Linked DNA regions of Homo sapiens: region 1 is linked to region 2. Evidence: promoter capture Hi-C in 16 types of primary human blood cells and fetal thymus (Javierre and others, 2016). All regions are on one chromosome and are shown on one strand. Each heading gives the region's core, a stretch centred on a gene start or on the middle of the fragment in contact. The rest is flanking DNA. Distances are from core to core; before and after follow the strand shown.

Region 1 (5,861 bases), core at 1,798-4,297, 1.0 Mb before region 2:
CTGTCCATCATCATCAACCCAGTTCCTTCCCTGTATACCCCGTAAAAATTCTTATTGGTTTCTCACTTATCCTTTCAGAGATTTATTACACAGTTCCTTATTAAAATAAAGTTGGTTACAGGTACTTCACACATTCTAATGCTTTTCTTTTCATTTATCTCAACATGACCTAAAGAATGTCTGGCTATACTTTCTCAATGCCTTACATGCAGTCTTTGATTCCTGTAGCAAGGCTTTAAGTGAGCAGTACTGCAGGTAAAGCAAAAATGTGGTGAGCAAAGCTGACACCAAAGCTAGTGGTTAAATAGCTACAAGCTAACAGACATATAATCAATACCTAACCCCACCAGCAACATTAAAGCAAATGAACTAGTATTTTCTAAATACCTAGCATAGTACCTATTATATGTATTTTACTGTACACTGCAGTTCCTTTTACAAAATAGACAACATATTTAGTCTTTTTTTGATTTAAAAAAAAAGGGATTCTTTGTCTACCAGGCTTTCTAACATAATGATACACAATCCTGAGTCACCCTGGACTTAACCAAAAAAAAAAAAAAAAAAAAAAAAGGATTAAGTATATTATTAGTATACTCAAAACTAACCTAACCATTAGCAAGGACACAAATGTATTAGATATAAAATATAACCTGTGTGCTCAAGTACTTAATTGTATTATGGGTTGGAAATAAAAGTCATATGTACCAAGTAAGTGGTACAAACAAGTGTCAAAGAAATGTAGCCGGAGGATAGTATACTTGTACTTGGAATGATCAGGAGATACATTAAGAAGGTAGCTTTTGAACCAAACCAAGAAAGGTTGGCTTCATGGAGCAGAGAAGGGGGCCAAGAAAGCAGCAGCTAGTCAACACAATGGGCTTGGTGCTTTAAAATATTTAAGTAGGGAATGGCAAACTACAGCTTATGGTCTAAATTCAGTCCACTGCCTGTTTTGTATAACCTGTGGGCTATCAAGGGTTTCTATGTTTTTAAATGGTTGAAAAGTATCAAAAGAATATTTTATAACATATGAAAATTACAAAATTCATATACAAAGTTTTACTGGCACACAGCCACATTCATTCAGTTACACATTATCTGTGACTGCTTCTGTACTGCAAGGCAGAGTTGTATAGTTGCAACAGAGAGCATGTGAATCACAGCCTAAAATGTACTATCTGGCCCCTTAGAGAAACAGTCTGCCAACACCTTGCCTTGGGAAGGCCTATGTAGCTGAAGCACTATGAATGAGGGGCTGGGCGGAGGATGGTGAGACTGAAGCTGGAGAGCTAAGAGGAACCTGTGTGTCATGGTGAGGATTTGGGTCCACATCCTAAGAGTAATGGGGAAGCTGTTAAAGAGTTTTAACTAGGAGACTGACAATTAGATTTGCATTTTGAAAAGATCATGTTGGTTGTTATATTGGGGACCAGAGGACTAGGAGATATGAAGGCTAGTATAGTAAGTAGCTCAAGCAAGATATGAATATAGCTTAAACTTTGGTGCTGGCAAAGTAAAACAAGGAGGCTAGGCAAGATTATTTCTGAGATCGCTTCCAGTTCTAAAACGCTAAAAATCCACAGTGGTTCAAAGTCTAGTTTTGCAACTTTCCTGAGTGTTTCCAATTATCACAAACAATTCTCAAAACCGTTTTGATAGGTGACAAAGATTCTTTGCCAGGCCAAACTTTACTGAGGTTTCTGAATCTTCTGCTAGGCCCATCTGTCCAGTTTCAGCAAAGAACTCTGCGAAGTCAGTTTAGCAAGAAACCCCTATCCTTGATATCTGATCGTCCTTTACCATCCTCCATGATGTCTGATCACCCTGGACTGTTTTTAGCAAGAATCCTGTTAGGTCGGTTTAGCCAAAATCCCCTTTACCCTTGATGTTTCCTCTTAGTAAGTTTCCATCCACTGATCCCACATTGCTTCTTGGCTATAAATTTCCACCTGCCCATGCTGTATTCAGAGTTGAGCCCAATCTCTCACCCACTTCAAGACCTCACTGCAGTGGCTGCTATACTTATCATGATGGTCCTGAATAAAGACTTCCTTACTCTGCTTTAATAAGTATCATTGAGTAATTTTCTCTTTAACATAGGAACAGCTCCCCAGTAGGTAGAATAAGTTAAAAATAAGCCAACAGAGCACTATGCATCTAAATAGTGTCAGAATGACTACAGAGTAAATGCCTCTCCCTCCATTAAAACACTTTCTAAAATATGATTTATATTTGTTAAAGTTAGAAAGGACTACTTTTATGATATTAAATTTACAATTAAAGAATTTACAGGTAAATAATATAATTTAAATGAACACACAACACAAATACTGCTTAGGAATATTTTCACTGCACTGTTCTTCCCGTAACTTAGTAATGACAAAACAAAGAACATACCTGCTACATTCTAACAACGTAACTTTAAGACGGCCTTCAGTAAGTGCCCATTGTTGTATATGGATATGCTCTTCATCTTCTTCAAATCCTTGCAAGGTCTGGTATGGAAAAAACGGCTTAAACCTGACAAAAGTAAAGATAAGTCTAAATGTCTGAATAATAAACACCACAGTTTAAAGCATAACAAAACTCACCTGTACAAAAACACAAAGCAAAATGAACACCTAATACTACACGTGCTCTACAAAACCAAAGCTTACCACACTCCCCCATAACTGGCAGCAAATGGTGCCTTCGCTATGGCACCCATAAGTCTTGGTTTTTTGGTATGCCCCCATTGATAAGGCAAGAGAGAACAAAGAAAAGAAAAGCCTAGAGGCAGCAAGTAGGCCATGAAGTTTAGGTGGGGCAGGAGAGAGACTGTGAACCAGATGGGAAGAGTGTTCCTACGGTACAAGATCAAAATTCAGAATGCATGTTCCATGGAAATAATATACAGTCCCCTTGGCATCCATGGGGGATTGGTTCCAGTACTTCCCAAGGATACCAAAATCCCAGGATGCTCAAGTCTCTAATATAAAATGGCCCAGTATCTGCATTATACACATTCTCCCATATGTTTTGAATCATCTCCAGATTACTTATAATACCTAATACAATGTAAATGCTATGTAAATAGTTGTTAAGACTATATTGTTCAGAGAATAATGACAAGGAAAAAAGTCTGTACATGTTCAGCGCAGATTAAATTTTTAAAAAATATTTTCAATCCACAGTTGTTTGAATCCATGGATGTGGAACCCATGGATGTGGAGCCCACGAATACAGAGAGCTGACTATTACAGACAGTGATTAGTACATGATAAAGATGACTGTAATAGCAACATCAATAACAATTAACACAGCAGAGATATTCATTAGAGATGTTTACTATTTGCCAGGCAGTATGCTAAGTGCTTTTTACATGCATTATCTTATTTAATGCTCACAACCCTGAAGAGGGCAATATTATTGGCTCCTCTCTCCAGATGAAAAGAATGAAGCTTAGGAAGGTTAACAAGTTTGTTCAATTTTACAAAGTGAATGGCAAAACCAGAATTCAAGCTAGTCTAATTCCAAAGTCCAACTATATAACACCTCAGTTACCTATGAATTATCCAGGCATTCATATGCTCATCACTAATATTGTTGTTTTTATGGAGAAGTTTGTGCTGAGTTATAAACTGTAGGTTTTAAAAAACTTTTAATTTAAAACACAACTCATACTCCTCCATTAAAGCTAAAGAAAAAGAAAATGAAAGAAAATTGGGCTTAAAGCCCCGTGGTTTTCAATTCACCCTACACATTGTCACTAGCCATGATATCTACTTGCTCAGAAAGTTTTAGTGGCTTCTTACTGACCACACAAACAGATACACACACACACACACACACACACACACACACACATAGTCAAAAGTTCTTGGTTTCACATTTAAGGTCCACCACAATTAATGTTCCTTTTTTATTTTTTCTTGAGACACAGTCTTGCTCTGTTGCCCAAGCTGGAGTGCAGTGGCACGATCTTGGCTCACTGCAACCTCTGCCTCCTTGATTCAAGCTATTCTCTTGCCTCAGCCTCCCAAGTGGCTGGGATTACAGGCATGCACCACTATACCTGGATGATTTTTGTATTTTTAGCAGAGATGGGGTTTTGCCACGCTGGCCAGATCAGTCTTGAACTCCTGACCTCAAGTGATCTGCCTGCCTCGGCCTCCCACATGGCCTCCCAAAGTGCTGGGATTACAGGCCTGAGCCACCACACCCAGCCCACAATTAATCTTTCTAATCATATATTCTCTTAATATAAACATTCCAATCTAGAAAGTCACCTCATATGCCCAGAAGACACTATGAATATTCCTGCCTTCAGGCCTTTCATACCAACTGGAAGTTTTCCCAGATTCCTCAAAGCCTGTCCAAATCCTCCCCTCTTTCGCACTCGGCCATACATGCTGCTTTCACTCTTCTCTATCTTGCAGTCCTCTAAATTGCGTGCATTTATGCCTTAAAATGTCAAATATGACTTAGTCTCACAATTCTCTGCATCCATCATCCATACCTGACGGGATGTTTCACACACTATCAGGATTTGAGTATGTGTTGCGCTGATTTACAAAGAGTTAACACTAAAACTGAAATAAACACTTAGAAAATATCAATGGCCTACTATAGTTTATACTGAAAGACACTAATAGAGGGGGTTAAATGCTGTTTTATGTTTTCCCAGTAAGTAAGATTAAAGAAAAAAATTTTAAGGAAATGTTAAGTAGGGACACAGGCGATGCTCAGTGGTTTTCTCCTGTTTCTAAACTAGTATGGAAAGCAGAAAGCCCCCCGAGTTTCTCCCAACTAAAACGCTAATTTGCATTTGAAGTCATTTGATTCAGACAGACTGGCACCAAATTTTTAGAGGGAAAAAAACTAGTAACTAAATTTATATCAATATAATGTTGTAGCTGGGTGCTTTTAACACACAGTCCTTATGACTCCTGAAAAACATATAACTGTTAGTTTGTAAAAAAATTATAATAACCATATACACTAGAAACTTTGAATTTAATAATCCAAGTTAGCTAAATCACAACTGCTCTAAGAACCAGCTTTCCTTGTCAAATATAAAGTCAAAATTCAATAAAATTTCTCACAGGAGTATGAGTTGAATGTTATATGGATTAAAGTCTAATTTGGATTTACTAATGCTCAGGGGGTTTTGCTAAGAGTGTTTATGCACAAAAATAATCTAAAATCAGAACAACGTATTCCATTTTAAATGAATATACTAAACGGTGGGATAAAGCATGAACATGTTCGGCAAGCCAATAAATAGAATCCACACATTAACATTCTCTAAGAACCTTTGGTTTTCAGAATTTTTAAGTCCAAGTCTTTAAGTATCCCAAACCCATAAAGAATCCAAACAATGAAGCGGGCTACCTCTATCACTTTCTTTTATCTTCCTATTCCATCATATCATCTTTCTTCAAAATCCATTAGTCTTTATTTCCTAATTAACCTATTAACTCAAAAATGTCAGTTTTCTCACTCAGGCTTCCCCGCAAAATAGTCTTAACAAACTACCTGTACTTCCTCCTGTAGAAAACTTAAAAACCCAAACTAGGAAGATCGACTTTAAGGATGACAGTATGAAGAGCCCTGCTGATCTGCTCCCCAGTGAAATTCGTGAAAATTATTTTAAACCAAAACATTTACAGCCTCTGGAAATGATCTTAAGAGCAAACAGCAAATTTTAAAAATCTACTTAAGAAAATCGATGACAATTTGATAAGAAAGCCAAGTCTGTGGTGTTTGAACCCTGTTTCCCCAACAAGCTCAGGGTGGCAGATTCCACAGTAGACTTCTTTACTTTTTATTTTTTATTTTTTTGAGACGGAGTCTCAATTTGTCGCCCAGGCTGGAGT
Region 2 (6,098 bases), core at 3,110-5,609:
ATTTGCTTCCTTGATAGTCACAATCTGATGTGAAGTGTCTATAACAAATGTTAGTGTTTGGTTTTCTGAATGGAGGAATAAAATGAGGGCAAATTACTAGGAAGATAATGGTAACCTTAAGCTCCAAGATTCCTCATCTGCACAGGTCCTTCCAAAGCACTGTACCTAGTTTTCTATTCAGAATTTACATTTCTTTGTTTAAAGGAAGAAACCCGAAGTTATATAAGCTCCAGGCCCCATAAAACCCAGATCTATCCCTAAACCTGTCTGTGGATTTTTAAAGTTGGGACAGCAGTACTCTTGAAATACTCCAATAGCACAAAAGACATCATGTAAAATATGCCAATATTGAAAAACAGGTGTCATGCTATTAATAAAAAAGATTTCTCCTGTTCTGAGAGCAAGGGGAAGGAAGCAGTAATAAGTTCCAGTATGACTTGGCCACCGCCATATAATATACCTTTAGGCTCATTATCATTTAAGGACTTAAAACAGTAACAAATTTCAGGTTTGGATTTCTTAGCATCACTGGAGTCTATGTTAGAAATAACTCTTTCCCTTCCTGTCCATAAAATATTTTACATGCCCACTTATGTGCCAGACACTCTTCAAGACCCTGGGGACAGAAGTATATAAAACAGGCAAAAATCCCTAGCCTCACGAAATGACAGCTATACACATAGCAAGTTTCTGCTCAGTTTTTGAGCCAAGTATTCCTTGACCTGGACTTTAGATGTGACTGCTCATGAAACGTGTATGCCTCTCCAATGGGCAGTGGCACAGGTCTCCTACTAAACCACTGTTTTAGCATCTCTGCAGGGTGATAGTCTATGCTCTGGGCACCCAAACATGCTTCCCTCTGGGAAGCAGTCTCAGTTGCCCCGAAGAAGGCATGCTTTTTGCTGTTGTTGTTGCTAATCAGCCTTCAAGTAGTTAGGCATTTTTTATGGCTTTTTAAATTTTCTCAAAATTATATATTTTTAGCTCCTGCTCATGTGGCATTAAAAACTGTCCTCAGTGTGGCATCTGCCTGGTATGATAATTTCTTGAGTGTACCCAAAGGAAAAAAAATTAAAATAGTTTGAAAAAGGTGGAATCCACCTCTAAATCCAGGCAAAATTCAAATCAGGTAGGTTTTGAATTCCACTCTTTAGAACCTTTAGTCATGTGCCATTTTCCTGTGACTCTCAAAAAAACAAATACAAGGGAGACTGAGCAGTCACTGATAAACACGGATAACTGCTGCCACTTACTGTGCAGCCTGCAAAATGGAGTTGCCCGTGTAAGCAGCAGCCCAGTTACAGATCAGCCAATATGGAGTGGCTGCTTAGTGACTTTTGCTTTGGACTCATGTTTCAAAACAGTCTTTCTATTCATAGCATATACTTGTCATTCACAAAGTTTCCAACTGGCACCATGTTAGGCCTCCTGTTATTCTTGTTTTGGCTGCTGTGGAGAATGATTCTCTATAAGTGTCTCTTACTTATGCCTTTCAGAGCGTATTTCTTTATTTTAAGGCAGATAATCCCAAGTTACCCTTTAACTGTGAAAATTCACTCAGCCTGTCTCCAGAAACGTGGAATATCAGAGAAACAGAAACTTAAATTTGTTTAGCATAGATTATAGCCAAGTCCATATAACAGCCAATGTATTAATTCATAAGCTTTCATTTTTTTTACCCTGCAACCCAAATAATTTTCAATTTAATCATTTTAGCCCCAAGGAAAATGTAAATGACTCAGAATCCTTTTTCTCTCTATGGTTTTGAATATCACTTTCTTCATTTTACACACCCTCCACCTCTAGAGTTAAGATTTATTCCATCCCACAATTATCCTCAAGACATTCTGTGTGTACTATGCAGAACACATCTTTAGTCCTGGGCTAACACAATTTGCCATGAACTGAAAATATTTATATACTGTCCTAGTCTGAATAACTAGGGTTTCTTGTTTGTTTGTTTGTTTGCCCTTGAAAACCACCCATCGTTATTATTTAGCATACTTGGTCAGATAACAATGAATCAAAAACAGGGTACAGTTCAGTGGTTCCTAATCTAAGTATGAATATAGTAACAGGAGTCTCTAAGCTAATTTCAAAAAGCCCAAACTATTTTATTTTTCCCCTCAGTAAGACTGTACCATTCATCATTACAGGAAAAGACCAATTTAGTGAAGCACTATTTTTCACATGTTAATCAGAGGTTCACTGGTAGTTATAGGTCTGATTTTTATCAGAAAAAAACATTCATAAATAAGGTTGAGTAGACACAATCTTTCAAAATAAAGCAGCCAGGGAGAAATCAAATTATAATAAAAACCGTTCTAGATTGTGCACTGGTTACAGGGGGAAAAAGTCTTCAAAGTTGGAAAATGGTTTCTAGTCCTGAGCAACATAATTAGGAGAAAGCCACTGCATTTGTCTGGGCCTCCATTCTTAAGCTATAAAATAAAGGTTTGATCAAATGATCTCTGAGATGTCTTACAGCTCTAAAATGCCTCTTTATGATTTTGATATTATAAGTGCCCTAAATGCCCAGAGTCACCTCACTCCTGGATGTATCACTCCATTCTCTCTAGCACTGCAATCCTGATTAGAGCCCAGTATCCAGTAGATAAGGTTTCTCTCCTCTACCTAGCAACTCAGCCAAGAGGATGTTTTCAGAGAAACTCTGTACACTTCAGGACACTGAGAAGGGGAAGGAACCCTAGTTACAACAGGAAACACTAGAACCAGAAAGGGGAAACAAAGCAAGTCACTGCTGCACATGGCATACAAACAGTGTGGCAGGCCTTGGTTTTCCACTAATCTTCACAACAACCCTTCCACTAGGAATTACTATCTATATCAGCCCCTCCCCTACCCGCCCCGCCCCCAATTTACAGATGGGATAACTGACTTGCCTAATGCATTCTGATCCATTTGTTTTACAAAAATAGCCCCATGGCTTTAGATTATGAATTTTACAGAGCAGAGTTGTAAGCGGGGACAAGGATTTGCGACTGGGGCTGAGAATGATCTTAGCCTATAATTACAGACTTGTTAAATTTGGTTAAGAATTTTTTTCTGTACTTTTTGAGTACAGAAAGCTATGCAAGATGCTATACTAAGTTGCATACATCAAAGTCAAAGTCACAGTCAGAGGTTTGAGTAATAATGTCATATTTTCTGGACAACCAGACAGCTGCTTATAATCAAAACCCAAAAGATATATTTGAGCAGCTCGATGGGTAAATGTTTTCCATCTCTATTCCAGAATTTAAATTCCATTTTCATCGTATAAGGCTGTCTTATTTCCTATATTTTGTATTTGATTAGAAATAATTCCAGAAGCCTGAACTTCGTCTGATCTAAAATTAATTTCACTTGTATACTAATTATAAGCCACAATTATTTAACAATCTGAAGATTGTAATTTACATCATAATCAGAGTCTGTGACTTAAAAATAGTTACTATTTTCAAGCATGTTAACATCAACATTAACGTAAATATCCTATTTACTTTTATGAAATGAATGTGTTCCTTTTCTCAAAAAAGGTACAGAAAGGACAACTGAATTACAGGCCTGAGAGCGAATCCAGAAAAACTACTTATTTAGCAAGATTTTGCATGTATTCAACTGTTTTAATTAAAGAGAGTGTTCGTTTACTTGAGGCCTGGAAAACATTTTCCCAGACCCAAGATCCTGCATGGAAAGACAATAAACCAAGTTAACAGTTCAAGGCTCATTTTAAGTCGATTCCGCTGTGAGAATACTTACAGGGTCCAAGATTGCAAGAGGATGGGTCTAGAAAGGTACACCGTTCCTGCTTGGCTGCACAACCCGGAATTCTGCAGGCTTTCTGGCGGCAATGCCACACTCCAATCCCAAAAGAGAGAGAAGCCCCTCCCGGGCACAGAACTAAGCGCTGCACATTCCGGCGAAGGATGTCTAGCCTGCTGGCAGTCCCATTAACTGGAGCTGTTTTCCGGAATACAGCAACTGTAAACGTGAGCCTGTTTTCCCTATCGACAGCCTCCTCAATCCCCTCTCACTTTGACCTGGGTGGGACGGAGAACCCCCTCCACATAACAGGCTGGGGAGGCCGCTGCGACGCCCCTTTCGAGGAAGGCTGAGGGCGGCCCCGCCGTCGCTTCCGCGGCCCCGGGCCGGGGGCTTTTCTAGCCTGCTCCGGGAGGCTCGGCCGAGGAGCTATGAGGCCGCCCATGCCGCCTCCCTCGGCTGCCCACAAGAGGCCCTCCCAGACTCATCATGCCGGAGCCCGAACCGGCGGGTAACCAACCCTCCATAAGCCGTACTCACCTGTCAGGAAGTGGTCGCCCAGCAGCCATCTTAGGACCCCGTCAACATCGCGCCTTCTCATTGGCTCCTGCGTCTCAACCAATGGGCTGGGGCCGTTCTGGCCCTAGGGTCGCCTTAGCAACCGGCCTCCTGGGGCTTCCCTTTTTAGTCCGCCCGAAGGAGGTGGTTCCTTTCTTTCTTTTTTTTCTCTCTTTTATCTTGCCGTTTTCTCTTTCTTCTGAACATTTTTAAAGACTTTGTTCTTTCTTCATTCCCTGCTGTAGGCCAATGCGTCTGGGCAAGGAAAGGGCTGACATAGACCTTGAACTGAGAGTTGATGCCACCAGGAGGGAGAATCTTGCAGAGTGCTTTCTTTCTAGGCCCCTCTGCAAACGTCTTCATTCATTCATCCTTTCCCCTCACTCTCTTCCTTTTTTTTAATTTTTTTTCTTTCTTCACCTATTTATTGGGCGCCTACTTTGTACCAGGCATCGTGCTAATCTCTGGTTAGCAGAAAACATGCTGACTCTTGCTCTCTTGGCGCCTACCGTCTGGTGATGGGGTCCAAGGTGCTTCACTGACTGGACCAAAAGTTTACCGAACTTCTTTTTTTCTTATTTGTGGCAGGCACTGTGTTATGCCCAGAAGGGGGTGCTTGGGGAACATAGAAAATAAGGGGAAAAAAAAGAGAGAGAAAAGCACTGCGAAGAGGATAAAATACCCTATGGATAGGGATGGGAATAGGGCTATTTTAGAAATATTTGCATTTTCCGAAATACTGTTTTATAATAAGAATAACATTAAGTGTACCTATTTGCTAATTTTGTGATGATTATATAAGAAAAGCCTGGGCAACAGAACCAGACCCTATTTCAAAAAAAGAAAAGAAAAGAAAATACAGTAGGCTTCCCTCATCTGTGGCTTCTCTTAGCCTGATTTCAGTTACCTGGGGTCAACCAAGGTCCAAACACATTAAGTAAAAAATTCCAGAAATAAGCAATTCAAATGTTTCATTGCAAGCCCATTCTGGATATCCTGATGAAATCTGCAGTGTGAATCATCGCTTTGTCCATGCATGCTGTTAGGCTACCAGGTTCTTAGTCACTTAGTAGCCATCTTGGTTATCAGATTGAAAAACTATATGTGGGGTTCGCCATTATTCCAGGATTCAGGCATCTACCGGGGAGTCTTGGAAGGTATTCCCTGCGGATAAGGGAGGCTACTGTACACATAAAGACTTTAACATGTTACCTAGCCCACGCTAATTTTCAATCTCAGCTGTTTTTTGCTGTTAACATTACCAATAATGTCTTTCTTCAAAGCAAGCTAAATGTGTATAAAATTTTGCATTGCACTCAGTAATATATCTCAATTTCACATCAACAGATGGTTAAGCCTATTAACTATCCACTAAACCACCTCACCTCCAACATCTTCCAGAAGATGCGCCAAGTTTAGAGAGCAGTTTTCTATAACCCCAGAATCATAGTAAAACCTGAATCAGCAAGTTTGGATCGCCGAGGTCCCTCTTCCTGTTCACATTCTCTGATTCTAGAGTAGAAGCAAGGCTGAATGAGTTAAGGATCTGTGTAAAACTATTTTGGCCAAATCTGTTCAGCTTCTCAGTAGGATTTTCCTTGAATCCAAATCTTTAAAAAGTTAAACAGGTAACAAGAAGGTGTGCCTGAGAGTGCTGTTGTAACTGCATTAGGCTTCTTAATTGCTCTTCATCTGGGGATAGCAAAATACTACAGACAAGGTAGCTTAGGCAACAGGAATTTATTTCTCACAGTTCTAGATGCTGGGAAGTCCAA

What was found. Contacts are between HindIII fragments. The CHiCAGO score rates a contact against its expected background, and 5 or more counts as called.
Region 1: a fragment that was not itself captured here is called in contact with the fragment with the promoter of FAM204A in region 2 in 1 of 17 cell types (naive CD4 T cells); the score reaches 5.1 in naive CD4 T cells.

The regions. Positions count from the first base shown.
Region 1 is chr10:117,338,580-117,344,440 of GRCh38, forward strand. It overlaps PDZD8 (PDZ domain containing 8), which reads right to left. Exons shown (of 5, transcript NM_173791.5): 2 at 2,401-2,523. Among named protein-coding and RNA genes, the nearest start is that of PDZD8, 34 kb to the right of the region's middle. The HindIII fragment of the contact is 788 bases long and covers 2,654-3,441 here.
Region 2 is chr10:118,337,965-118,344,062 of GRCh38, forward strand. FAM204A (family with sequence similarity 204 member A) reads right to left here and starts at 4,360. Exons shown (of 9, transcript NM_022063.3): 1 at 4,306-4,360; 2 at 3,763-3,963. RefSeq lists enhancers at 4,165-4,664, 4,301-4,520. The HindIII fragment of the contact is 7,280 bases long and covers 1,662-6,098 here.